Linked DNA regions of Homo sapiens: regions 2, 3 and 4 are each linked to region 1. Evidence: promoter capture Hi-C in human tissues and cell types (Jung and others, 2019). All regions are on one chromosome and are shown on one strand. The core of a region is centred on a gene start or on the middle of the fragment in contact, and the rest is flanking DNA. Distances in the headings are between cores, read along the strand shown.

Evidence for each region. Contacts are between HindIII fragments. The study calls those that stand out against the background at their distance.
Region 2: a contact is called between a fragment that was not itself captured here and the fragment with the promoter of MERTK in region 1, in 1 of the 25 tissues and cell types used here (lymphoblastoid cells).
Region 3: a contact is called between a fragment that was not itself captured here and the fragment with the promoter of MERTK in region 1, in 1 of the 25 tissues and cell types used here (liver).
Region 4: a contact is called between a fragment that was not itself captured here and the fragment with the promoter of MERTK in region 1, in 2 of the 25 tissues and cell types used here (aorta and dorsolateral prefrontal cortex).

The regions. Positions count from the first base shown.
Region 1 is chr2:111,897,357-111,900,819 of GRCh38, forward strand. It overlaps MERTK (MER proto-oncogene, tyrosine kinase), which reads left to right and starts at 1,251. Exons shown (of 19, transcript NM_006343.3): 1 at 1,251-1,440. The coding sequence starts at 1,380. RefSeq lists an enhancer at 390-719. The HindIII fragment of the contact is 10,682 bases long and covers 1-3,463 here.
Region 2 is chr2:112,331,988-112,335,450 of GRCh38, forward strand. It overlaps ZC3H6 (zinc finger CCCH-type containing 6), which reads left to right. Exons shown (of 12, transcript NM_198581.3): 12 at 1-3,463. The coding sequence ends at 501. Among named protein-coding and RNA genes, the nearest start is that of ZC3H6, 58 kb to the left of the region's middle. The HindIII fragment of the contact is 5,053 bases long and covers 1-3,463 here.
Region 3 is chr2:112,314,008-112,317,470 of GRCh38, forward strand. It overlaps ZC3H6 (zinc finger CCCH-type containing 6), which reads left to right. Exons shown (of 12, transcript NM_198581.3): 6 at 2,463-2,579; 7 at 3,214-3,325. Among named protein-coding and RNA genes, the nearest start is that of ZC3H6, 40 kb to the left of the region's middle. The HindIII fragment of the contact is 4,981 bases long and covers 1-3,463 here.
Region 4 is chr2:112,294,674-112,298,136 of GRCh38, forward strand. The region is part of intron 1 of ZC3H6 (zinc finger CCCH-type containing 6); the gene reads left to right. Among named protein-coding and RNA genes, the nearest start is that of ZC3H6, 21 kb to the left of the region's middle. The HindIII fragment of the contact is 3,332 bases long and covers 162-3,463 here.

The DNA of each region.
Region 1 (3,463 bases), core at 1-2,500:
TTGCTGTCGGTGTAAGTAATAACCTGTCTAAACCCATCTGGGCTGCCTGTCTCCTTCCCGTAGCCAAATCTACGGGAAGTGTCCAGCCAGTGTAGGGGTCAAGGGACCGCTTGACGAGACCAACGTAAATTGAAGAGGCGTAAGGAGATGAGGCCAAAGAGGAAAGGGGACCAGGTCACGTAGAACCTCGTAGACCACTGCAGAACCTTGGCTTACGTACGCAGAGACAGCAGGAACCACTGATAGGTTTAGGGAGATTTGAGGAGAGGGACATGATTTGGCTTATGTTATGTTGTTAAAGGGACCACATTAAAATACATTCATTCTAAAAGTGTTACCTTTAAGAAACTACGTATATAAATTAAGTTACTGTTGCCATTATTAGCGTAAGTAGTTACATTTCTCTTACGACTCACTCTCTGCTACTGCCTCTTGGACCCTGCACACCTTGTGGAGGCCCATGAGAGTGACGTGCTGTGGTTCCCCCTCTCCCCACTCCTGCTCTGCACTTTGTCATTCACGTTCATCTCCCTCCTTGAGTGTCACCTCTCTCTGGCTCGTCACGGAGCCACGGCAAAGCGTCCTTTCCCAGGAACCCCTCCCCCTGGGGAGGTGAGCTCCTCGCCGCCAGGGCCGTGTCGCGCACCTCGGGCCGGGTACCCAGGCGGCGCTCGGCGGCGAGCGGAATGGATGTGGAGGAGCGCTCGGCAGGGAGCGCTGCCGCCCTGGCCTTGGCCTCTGGGAGCGGCGCGGCCAGGGTTTTCTGTGTCAGCCAAGCCCGGAATGCGGGGGCGCCTCTGGACCCTCCTCTTGGGTCTGGGGGCTGCCTCGGGCATCCTCTACTCCTCTCCCACCTTCTGTCCTTCCCCATCTCCCACCCACACGTGTGGGGCCCCGGACCCGCGCAGCGGCCAGAGCCTTCCGCTGTGGACCTCCAGTCCACCCCTCCCCTTCACTTCTCTTTCCGGCTCCCTCCGGGTCTCTCAGCCCCCTCCCCTTCCTCTCCGCCCCCTTCCCCGCCGTCTGCCCAGCGGCGGCCTTCGGCCCGCCCCTTCTCTCCAACCCCCTCCCTTTCCCCTTTACGCCCCTCCTCCCCCTCGTCCTCCCGCCCCCTCCCACCCCAACCTGCTGGGCCCGCCGGGACTCGCCCCCCTGCCCGCTCCTCTCCTCCAGCCCCGGCCGGCCTCGGCTCGGCCCCCGGCCCGCCCCTTCCAGCCCTCGGCACCTCCCGCCGGCCGCTTGGCTCCGCCACTCGGCACTCACTGCCCGGGCCGCCCGGACAGGGAGCTTCGCTGGCGCGCTTGGCCGGCGACAGGACAGGTTCGGGACGTCCATCTGTCCATCCGTCCGGAGAGAAATTACAGATCCGCAGCCCCGGGATGGGGCCGGCCCCGCTGCCGCTGCTGCTGGGCCTCTTCCTCCCCGCGCTCTGGCGTAGAGGTGAGTGCGCCCGGCTGGGGGCCAGGCGAGGGGGTGGGGGCTCCCAGGAGGAAGCAGGGGCCTCTGGGGAGGGAGCGCGTCCACAGGGGCGCGCCTGGCTGCTGGACAAGTTTGCAAACACCCTCCACCCACTGCGGTGCCAGAGGAGGGGGCGTAGGCGAACCTACCGTCCACTGACCGCGGCGCCTCAAGCGTCCCGAGGGCACCCAGCCTGGCTTGCGGGTGCGCATCGTGGTGAAGCCGGGTCGGGGTCGGCGTTGCAGGCTCCCCTCTTCACCGCAGAGGAGGAAATCGAGCTCGGCCGGGCGCGCTGCAAGTCCTGAAGTTCCGACGAGTGGAACGTAGGTAGCAGGTCTGGTCTGGGATGCGACGAGAACTTTCCACTAGAGTTGCATGGTGGGGCCCCGCTCTGGCCGGAGTCCCGGGGGCCACAGATCCGGTCTCCCGAGGGACCGGCGCGGGGCGAACGAACGGGCTGCGGGAGTCGGAGCCGCAGTCCGGGAGCCGCGATAGACTGAGGCCGAGCGACGGGCCAGGGGGGGACGGCAGTCCTGGCTGCTCCCAATGGGCCCTTACGGGCATTATTAGTATCCCTTTTTAGGGGCACCCAGAGAGTGTGGGAAAAGGGGAGCGTTCTTTTCACTCCTGTTATGGCAGAACAGAACTTACAGTGCTCGGCAGCGTTTACGTTTATCTGGATTCAGCGAAGTGTTGTTACAGGCTTTTTTTTTTTTAATTTGAGACCGAGTCTCGCCCTGTCGCCCAGGCTGGAGTGCCGCGGCGCGATCTCGGCTCACTGCAGGCTCCGCCTCCCGGGTTCAAGCGATTCTCCTGCCTCAGCCTCCCGAGTAGCTGAGACTATAGACGCGCGCTACCACGTCCGGCTAATTTTTGTATTTTTAGTAGAGACGGGGTTTCACCATGTTGGCCAGGATGGTCTCGATCTCTTGACCTCGTGATCTGCTCTCCTTGGCCTCCCAAAGTTCTGGGATTACAGTCGTGAGCCACCGCGCCCGGCTTGTTCCAGGCATTTTAATACAAGATGCTGGACTGATACGTGGAGGCAAGGAAGGCCGGTTTCATTCTGCTTGAACAGCTTATTTGGGGAGTGAGTGATGAACAGATTTCAAGTTTGATCGCTGATGCACTTCTTGAGGAGGCTGGAATAAACTTACCAGGCTTTACCCAAAAGAAAAAGAAAGGGGAAAAATGCTAAATAAACACATTCCAAGTATTTTCTCTCAGCTAAAAGGTTTCTATTTCCATTCAGCATGTAGATTTTCTCTCTTTTGATCGAGAATGCACTTGACTAGCCTTCACCTATTACAGTCAAAGATGTTTTTTAGGAATACCTGGAAAGCTCAGTTTATAGTCAAGTAAGTTACTTAAAAGTTTTTCCTTTGAGATTTTCCTTTGAAAGCTCATTTACTCAAATGAAAAATTCTTAAACAGTGCACCCACTTTTTGCACGTTAAATTACATAAGCAATTTATAATTTGGGGCAACATAGCAATTTGAAACAAACTTTAAGAGCCAGGCAAAGAACTAAAGCAGTTCTGTTCTCCACTGCCCCTCCCTCCACCAAACCTTCAAAAATTCCTCAGCATTTCTGCCAGCCCCATTTTTCATAATCTGCTGCAAATCTGTTATTTGTTGCTACTAGTGAGGACTGGCCGTGAATAGTCTTGGAGGTAGTGAATGTGGTGAGAACTATGGAGAAAGTAATGGGAACAATAGTTTTGTGTTAAATACTTAAAAATTGGAGTGCTTTTGTTTTTCTAAAATTTTAAAAGGCTGTAATAACAAATTTTTGTAGCTGACAATCAACTTTAATCAGACAATCATAAAAAGGCCTTTTAAAATCCACCCAGCTGGAAGAATGAAAAGTTTCACCAATCGTTCTTGCACTTTTTGCTTTTGGTTTTGAACTTTACCTATGAGATGTGTGACAGTTTTACATCTCACCTTGTGAAAAGCTTAAAGAATGGGATTCTCACTGGCAGAATTACAGCACAAAGGAGTG
Region 2 (3,463 bases), core at 279-2,778, 430 kb after region 1:
TATGCCCCTAAACTCTCTTCCTCAGCTGGCCTTCCACTGGGAACTTCCACTTCAGTTCTTAGTGGTATTAGTTTGTATGACCCTAGGGATCACGGTTCATCATCCACATCAGAGCTAGCAACAGCTTCTTCAGGAGAAAACTCAAAGAACCAGAAAAAAAGTGGTGGCTTAAAAAGTAGTGACAAAACTGAACCTTCTCCTGGAGAAGCCATCCTTCCACAAAAACCCAGTCCAAACGTGGGAGTCACTCTTGAGGGGCCAGCTGACCCACAGGCGGACGTTCCCAGGAGTTCTGGTAAGGTTCAGGTCCCAGCAGTGCACAGCCTTCCTGTTCAGGCATTAACAGGCTTAATTAGGCCACAGTACAGTGATCCAAGGCAGGCAAGGCAGCCAGGACAGGGGAGCCCGACCCCAGATAATGATCCCGGTAGAGAAACAGATGACAAATCTCTGAAAGAGGTTTTTAAAACTTTTGATCCAACTGCTTCACCATTTTGTTAGCTATTGTGTAACTGAGCAATTCTTTTCACTCTTGTGACTATCTCAGTCCTCTGCTGTTTTGTAACTGGTTTACCTCTATAGTTTATTTATTTTTAAATTATAAACACTTTTCAGCTGCTAGTATCAGAACCACATGAAGTTATAGCCTCTAAAGCCTGTGGTATTTTATATAATATTTTTATAACTTTAAGAGACTGTAGTAATTGACCTAAAAACTTATGTTAGCTTCAGTAAAAGTACTTTTATTGTAAATAAACAATCATGAACTCAACACTCTGCCTGAATATATGCCAGTTGTCTTTCATAATCAATGTTTAGATAAATGATTGCCACTTTTTATATGGTTGTTTAGTTTCAAGCAATATGATGTACATTACTTTTGAGAAACAGTATTTTGACTAGGACCTCTCTTATTTGTCAGCACAGAACTGATTAATATGTAATGCTACCTGCTAATTAAAATGTAAAATCAAGTAAAGAAAACATTTTAAAATTACAATTAGCAGAGCAGTTCATGTTTAAGGGCATCACTTTTATTAGTATTGGCAATATTATTTGTGTAAATGAAGCATTTGAATGTCATATCTTTTTAAAGTATTTTATTGTATACTGTATCATAGAAGTTGGAGGTATATAAATAGAACATTTTGCTAAAGTGAAAAATTTCCAAGTTCTCTAGCATAACTTTTTACATTTAATTTTTCATATGAAATAGCAATTAGTTACTGCTGTGTTACATTGTGATGTTTATGTATGTCAATGTTTTTGTCTTTAACAGCATAATTTATATTGCTTTTTCAAATGATGTAGCTGCATTAATTGTGTTCATCATGACTTTGGCGATTTTTAACAAAATTTTTAAAGACCCAGTGAGAGTCTGTAGTGATTATTACACGGATAATGTTTTAAATGTCTAGGTTCTGTATTTTTTTCTTAAATAGCAAGAAAATACAGATTGCTAGTATAGTCAACAGTATTTGGCTATCAATAAAGAATCTCTTTAAGATCTCACCCGGCTGGCATTCTGTAACAGAGGGGATTACCTGGTGTTTTAAGTATTTAATGTCCTCATAGTGTGGAAATCCCCTAAATTGATTAGAAATTGTATTTTATGAAAAATAACTTGTATTCATTCTTGTGTATTTATTACAATATATAAATAATGGCAACTCTTTGTTTTATACATATATAATTTATAACTGAATCTAAGTATTAGACTGCTACTCATATTTTGAACTGCAGGTGTAGGACAGTGTTTGCTGGTAACAACTCCAATGTGTATTAATAACTTGAAAAGGAGCATTTCACTATAAAAGATAATGAAGTAGGTAATGAAATCAGTCCTTGAATGAAAGCAGTGCCCTTGAGAAGGGATTTTTTTTTAAATATACAGTAAAATATTTCGTGGGAACCTAACACTCACATAGCATATGGTTTATTAATAATGCATATCCTTTCTAATCACTTCTTCAATTCTTTTTGCTGCAGTTCTGTGCTAAAATGGGGTTGTGGTTAAGTGAACGAGAACTCTGCCTACCTAAGAAGTTCATTGTGTTCTAAGTGGAAGGAGAGTTACTGAAGGGAATGTGAATTTTTACCGTTTGTACTTAAGATACATTTGTTGTCTAAAATGGCTCTGGATAACATTTTTGGGTTAAAAAATGTAATTTAAAGCCACCATAGAAAGTATTTTCTGATTTACTGTCCAAATGAATTTTGTTGTTAATTGAGAAGTCAATAAAATGGATTAAACTGACAGAAAAAAAACATATATATATATCCCAAGGTGTAATTTACTCTTTTGTCAGGATAAAATCAGAAAAATGGCTGATTTTAGTAAATGAAATTTTTAGCAAATCTTTCATTCATGTAGTTTATAATTATTGTGTCAAGCAGTGCTGTTTACATTTTAAGCATCATACAAAAAAGATAATTTGGCTTGCTAAACATCAAAATAGAATCCAAACTCTTAACCGAATATCTTTTTTACAACTAAAAGAGATATTCCAAGATTTATTAAAGAGTCAGGTTTAAAAGTTATTAATGCAAATTATGTAATGTTCATTTATTCAGTATTCTTGAGTCCCTGTTACCTCAATTGGTGTTCTAGAGGCTATTTTACAAGAAAGTTTGAACTTAGTTTCAAATTTGACAATATATTTTATATGAAAATGTTTATGTTTAAAATAACTTATTTATTATGCAGCATTTTTATTGTGATAACGTTAGTTTATGGGATATTCTGTCATATCCTGTAAACATAGTTTATTTTTCTTCTTTTTTCCCATTTTCTCATACAAATTGAATAAGTAGCCATTTTCCCCCAATGAATACCTCTTCTTTTAGGTCAATTGGTGTTTTTAGAATCCATGTAATTTGATTTGCACTGTTAGATTGAAAAGTAAGTTACGTTCCTGTTCTTAGAAGCCACACATTTAGAGATAACAGAAATAACTTGAGTCTTAAGAGTATGGATAGGCTCATCCAATGAGATGTAACTTAGCTATTCATACTGTTTGTGATGGAAATTCTATACCTGTTTACTGTGATGATGAATACAGTGGATATAGCAGGGGGTTGAAATGGAACACACAGAAGATCATGACAATTGAGATTCAGCAACTGCTGTCTCATATCTTGGTTAAGACCTCATTGTGAACCTTGAACACAAATCAGATGTTGGAGTGATTTCAAACTCTATTTCAACAATTGGGTCTGTTTCTATATGGACCCTCTATTTCCCAGCTGAATGTTTCAAACCCCCAAATTAGGCTGCAACCGAAAGAGCCTAATTGTGAAATGATGTGCGCTTATGTTTCTGTTTATCCTTTAGCCATGGAACTTTAAAGAGTAGTGTTCCTCCTACTTACTTTAAGCTGGAAGAAGAGTTGAGTAGTAAATCCTGTGTGAACTTTTAGCTCAGCTACTCTGCTGAATTAATTAGAGGTAGGAAGGACTTACA
Region 3 (3,463 bases), core at 372-2,871, 420 kb after region 1:
TGTAATAAATATTATTTTCCTGGTAGATCCTTACATTTCCTCTACCTGATATATATTAATATTTTATGCTCTTGTCTCTTGTATCAATATATCTTCTAAAGTAAATAAGTTTTAAAATGACCAAGTACAGTAGGTAGCTTGGTTTTTTTTCTCCCTCCATCTCTCCCTCTTTCTCTCCTTCATTCTTGTATTTTTTTTTATTCGCAGTACTGTCTTGTAATGCAAAGAATATAGGAGGAGTTGCAAGGCACAATTCCTGAGTTCTGTCAGTCTGCTAACTCACCATATCTTCTGGGCACTTAATTTTGCCCTAAAAATTTATTTGTTAAAGTTGCTTTAGATTTTCTATAGTACCTTGATTATAGTCAGGTTTCCCATAGCTGTGGACACTGACATACTTTCTACTCATTTAAGTGGAACTAAACTAAAAAACAAAACAAAACACTTCCTCACCACAATCCTCTATTAAAACAATGAAACATTATTTGGAAGTAATGTATACAGAAAGAGTAAGTTATTAATGAAACGCTAAGTACAACTTGTTGCATTTTTCAGGGTGTGTGTGTGTGTGTGATTACCTAATTTTTTTACTTTTTAATTTCAGAGTTATATTCCTCAGGTTGCTCATTGATTTTTGCATAATTTACTTTCTTTGGCTGTTTATTTTATTTTATAACAGCCATGATTCTTTGTATAGAATGCCTATGTGAGCTGGTCATTTATATCTGCTTATTCTAAACGAATCTCTAAACATAAAAATGTTTGTGAATCAAATTTATATAGATTTGAGACACTTTAAATGATTCTGTCATAGTATATTATAAGCAATTTCATTGTGTTTTCCTGGGGTAAATTAGGTATGTTTATATTTTTAAAACGAATCTCTAGGATTATCTGTTTACTTTGTATTCTTGTACCTTTTTTAGAATTCTTACAGTAAAATGTGATTTGAGCTGTGAATGCTGGGGATCAGATTTCAATTTAGACATCTATTGCCTCAATGTTTGCTGTGAGGCAATCTCTTGTTTTCAGTAGATTGAACTTTATGCTCTATCTTTTAGCAAATTAAGAGAAAAGGGAAAACAGAAATCAAATCAGAAGAGTAAATAGTCATTGAACTCCTATGATATACAGGGCACAGTGCATGCCAGGTGCATGAAAAATAATGTTGTTTTTTAGAGTTGATGAATGTAACTCATTACATTTAGCATGGCTAAGCATCATACTCTGCCTTGTTACTTAATCTTATACTTAAAGCAGAAGTTGAATAGGGGACTCAGGAGAAGTAAGGAAAACAAGTAGGGCTATAAGATTTCTTTTCCTTTAATTTTCTTAAGTTTTTTTCTTAACTTTTTATATTTAAAAGTTAAAAGTAATACACGCCGCCTGTTTGTTTGCCCTTTTTTTCCCCTAAAGAAAGTACAAAATAACCACACACATAAAATCTCTAATCCTGCCATCCAGAGACATACACTGTAAAATATGGGGGTATATTCTTTTTGTCTTTTTTCCTTTGCCTTTATTTATTATTGTAGAATTGGGATCAATTTTTTACTTCATAAAATATTGTAAACTTTTTTTTTGTTTTTTTTTTGTTTGTTTGTTTGAGACACTCTCACTCTGTTGCCCAGGCAGGAATGCAGTGGCGTGATCTTGGCTCTCACTGCAGGCTCCACCTCCCAGGTTCAAGCGATTCTCGTGCCTCAGCCTCCCAAGTAGCTGAGATTACAGAGGTGTGTGCCACCACACCTGGCTAATTTTTTGTATTTTTAGTATGGACAGGATTTCACTATGTTGGCCAGGCTGGTCTCAAACTCCTGGCCTCAAATGATCCCAAAGTGCTGGGATTACAGGCATGAGCCACCATGCCTGATCTGTAAACAGTTTTTATGATCCAAAGTTGTTGATTTTTTAATGACTGCATAATATTCTACCACCTAAGTGTATCATAATATATTTGACCAGTCTTCTAGTTTTAAATGTGTAGAGTGTTTCTCGTTTTGCTGTTTGTTTTACTATGTCAGTATTTTATTATATGACTAGATCTTTGTGTCTCCCTGATAATTCTTTCAAAATAATCCCAAAAAGTACAAGTTGTATGTCAAACAATATGGATATTTTAAAGTCTTTTATAACATACCTATCAATAATATGAGTGCATATTTTATTGTGTCTTTGCCCAAATTGAGAATTGTGAATTTTTAAACTTTTTATAATTTTATTTAAAAAGTTATTCATCTTCATTAAAATAGAAAGAAATAGGCTTTTTTTTGCGATCACTAGTAGCATAAGTAGATTACTAGACACATATCTCTCTCCAAATAAATGAATAGCATCAGAATGTTCAATCTTGATCACTTTTTGTAGTCAATTTGTACTTTTTTCCAGATCAACTTAATCATACATTTTGATACCTATTAATATTTCATATGCTGCATTCAAATGGAATTTTTTTCTTGCAGTATAATAAACCAGGGAAAAAATGGAAGGTTATGACTCAGGAATTTATTAATCAGCACACAGTGGAACACAAAGGAAAACAAATCTGTAAATACTTCCTGGAAGGGAGGTGTATTAAGGTAAATTTATAGAGGTATCATAAGTCATTTTAACTTCCAAAATAATCTTTAAAATTAAAGTCTTTTGGGGGATGGTTAATTTTTTTCTCTTCTCATATAGTTGTAATAAAACTGGGTCTTTAAAATGTATCTTGCATGGAAATACCGTACATTAGAGCTCATTTAATTATGTTCTGGGACAATAACATAATTTGTTGAAATCGGATTTGTTTAAAAGACACATAATGCTACGTGGCAAGTACTGTTCAAAGTACAACTAATATTAAATGATTTAATCCTACAGTGACCCTACAAAGTAGTTAATGTTATTATCCCCATTTTATTCATGGCACCAAGAGGTTAAGTAAGTTCCCATGGTAGCTCAGCAAGAAATGGTGAGTGCTGGTTGCCAATTCAGGCAGTATCCTGTGAGGTCTTGCTCACTGTGCTGCCTTAATGCATGTAGCTACATCCACTGTCTTGGGCAGGAATTCTAAGGGGTCATTTGAGTTATTATTTGTTCATTATTAAAGACTGAAGATAATGACCATAATTTTACCATGAGACACCATGTAGAAAATTCAGCTGTTGTTTCTTTGTTTCTCATTGTTTCTTACCTTTTTTTCTTTTTTCTTTTTTTTTTTTTTGTGAATAGGGAGATCAGTGTAAATTTGATCATGATGCAGAGTTGGAGAAAAGAAAAGAGATCTGCAAATTTTATTTACAAGGATATTGTACCAAAGGAGAGAACTGCATTTATATGCATAATATCCTTTATTTAAAATGTATGTTAAATAAAATGCTGGGGTTTTAAAGCATCATTGAGGTTTTAAAAAATAATAAATACACCCTATAAAGCCTAGTTTGGTTTTAAATTTAAAACAACACATTACATAAACCCAGTC
Region 4 (3,463 bases), core at 578-3,077, 400 kb after region 1:
ACTGAATAGTTGAGGTTAATTTATTTTAATAGCCATCAATATCAGAGTGGAAAAAAGTAGAATCCTCTATTAAGGCATATCAGTTTGTAAAGATTTAATGAATAATTACCTTAGAATAAGAACATCATGGGTGACGAGGGTACTGACCATTTTCAGAGTCTTGAATTTTTATACCATAGGGTATTATGATTTTCCCCAGTTGTCTCAATCTAGATACTTAGATCTAGAGAAAAAATATTTTTAACTATTTTTTAAAATAACAGCTTTATTGAGATACATTTCACTTTTAAAGTGTACAGATCACTGGTTTTTAGTATATTCAGAGTAGTACAGTCATTACCACTATTTAATTTTAGAACATTTTCACCACTCCACAAAGTAACCCTTTACCCACTAGCATTCACTCCCTATTTTTCCCTCTAATCTACCTGGCAACTCCTAATCTACTTTGTATCTGTATAGATTTGCCTAAGATATAAAATCTTTTAAAATTATTGTTTATTAACTGAACAGTTATTTACCAGTCATTGGTACAAGAACATGAATATGCTCCTTTTTTAAAAAGGACATAATCAGTCTATTGTGTTTATATTAATAAAACGTCACATATATAATTAATTGACTGAGGAACTTATCTATTTGATGTATTACATTTTTTAAAGTCTTGTGTTTAGTAAACAAAACAGCTCTTATATAATAGTATTAAGCTAGTTCAAAATCTAGAGAATGATAAGAACTCTTAATTATTTCTATTACCTCTTCTAGGTATTTCCCAAGATCACTAGGTTAGTATCTGATACATTACTAGGTGTTCAATTAAGAAAGCTTTATTTTATTTTGGTGATAGAGCTGGAATTAGAATCCAGCTTTCCTCCCATGGAGTCTCCTTCTCTTTCCATTATACCACACATGCTTTCCACATGCGTCCAAAGCTGACATTTCAAAGGGTTTGGAAGCAGTTCATAGTGTGAATTATTTTTCTCTATTTCCTCTTTCTCTCGCATTTTTTGTAGCCATACAAAAATATACAAGTTTAAATCTGCTATTATATGAATGCTGAAATGATAAGTAGGCTAAGGGAAACTAAAAAAAATTTTAAAAGCTTGCAGTGTTTTATATCTCGTAACAAATATAAATGACCCACATTTCACACTTAAATAATGTATGTAAAGTAGGACATGAGTTTATGGGCATTTTTAGCATGTTTACTTTGTTTTTAAATAGCTCTAGTTAAAATGCTAAATATGAAGCAGTGATTTCCAGATGTAATTTTTTTTATGCTTTAAGGAGCTCACGTTGAAGGAGAGGCGCAGTAAAAGAAAGGATAAACACTTATAGATTTTTTTTGTCATTTGTGTTTTAAATTTTATTGTGGTATAAATGTAGATAGCAAAGTACACAATACTTAAATGTATAACTTGATGGGTTTTTACAAATGTGTATAATGTATATATAGTAATCACACAGATTAATATACAGAATATTTCAGTACCTCAGAAGTTTCCTTAATACCCCTTTTTTTGTCACTTGCACTCGTGCAAGAGGTAATCACTATTCTGACTTCTGTTATATATTGGTTTGTCTGTTTTCAAAGTGCATATACATGAAATCATACAGTACTGTCTTGTGTCTGGCTTCTTTCACTCCTCATTATGTCTATAAGATTCCTCTATATTGTTTTTTTGTAGCAGTTGTTAATTTTTTCTTTGTAGTATTCTATGATATAAATAAAGCATAATTTATATATCTATTTGCCTGTTGATAGAGATTTGTTATTTATAATTTTTTACTATTATGACTACAGCTGTCAAAAACATTCTTATACTTGTCTTTTGGTGAATATGTGCACTCATTTTCTCGGATTGTAAGGTTTTGTAGTTTATAAAAGTTCAAAACATTTTAATTGAAATAGCCAGAATGCCAAGACTGCCTCATAAGCAATTTTCAAGTCTAAGTGAATATTACCTCTCTGATTTTATAGTAGAAGCTGGGGAAAATTCCAGTGACTTTACAGCCACTTTAGGGTCGTATCATATGCCTCTTCTATGATGCAAGAGTTATGGGTATTATACATTCAGGGATTCAGTAAATAGCAAGGTGCCATGCTAGGTGCTAGAGATACCTCTGTAAAAGACAGTCATACACCCTGCTTTCACCAATGAACAAACAAGTCATTTGACATAATGTACAGAGTGCAATGATAAGAGAAATGAGAACTAGCAGAGGAGTACTTAGAATGAAGCATCTCACCTAAATCTGGGTAGTAATGGGAGACATCTTGTAGGAAATGACATCTAAACTGCATCCGAAATACTGAATTGGAATTAGCCAGGTGAAAGAGGTGTGGTGAGGCTGGTGACATGAGCTGGGCATTGAGAGATTTTAGGCACTTTTTAAGGCTTGTAGACTTGAGAAATTGAAAGTAGCTGGGTGAGCAGAGGGAACCATTGAAGATTATCTTTTTATTATAGAACACCTCAAAAAGAATAGAATGAATCCTCGTATACACATCCCAGTTTCAGCAGTTACCAACTCATGGCCAATCTTATTAAGACCACGTCCACTATCCGTAGTGGATTATTTTGAAGCAGATTTGAGATATATCATATCATATCATTGAAGATTTATGGCAGGAGAGTGACATGATCAGTTTTGTATTTAAGAAATTACACATACCTGGTAATTCTAAATTACCTTTAAAATGCCCACACCATAGTTTAGTTGTTTTTCATTTGCTGCCATTTATACATAGACAGTTACCTTTCTGCATGTACTATTTGTAGTAGTTTGCACTTTTTCAAACTATAGTGTTTTGGAAGTATGATTAAATGTTAAAATTGTTTTATGTATTCATCTTTCCATGTGTATCGGTTGGTTTATTTGCATTTTAAAATACTATTAATGAATATTTTGGTTTCTATCTATAAAATGTCATAATCAATATAAAAGTCAGTTTGTTTCTAGGATTCAGCCTCCATAATAGCAAAGATACTAGTATTTGGAAAGAAATTAGATTTATAGTTCTACTATGAATCTTTTTTACAGATTCAAGTTGAGGAATTGTTTTGTGGCTTGAGTTTTGTTACTATCTGTGTATGAAAATTTGGTTTTTTGTTTGTTTGTTTACTTAGTGTTTGTTGGTAAGAATTAATATTGACTGGCTGGGCACGGTGGCTTGCACCTGTAATCCCGGTATTTTGGGAGGCCAAGGCAGGCAGATCACTTGAGGTCAGGAGTTTGAGACCAGTCTGGCCAACGTGGTGAAACCCCCATCTCCGTAAAAATACAAAAATTAGTCGGATGTGATGGCGTGTGCCTGTAATCCCAGCTACTCGGAGGCTGAGGCACGAGAATCGCTTGAACCTGGGAGGTGGAGGTTGCAGTGAGCTGAGATCGTGCCACTGCACTGCAGTCTGGGTGACAGAGTGAGACCCTGTCTCAAAAAATATATATATACATATAG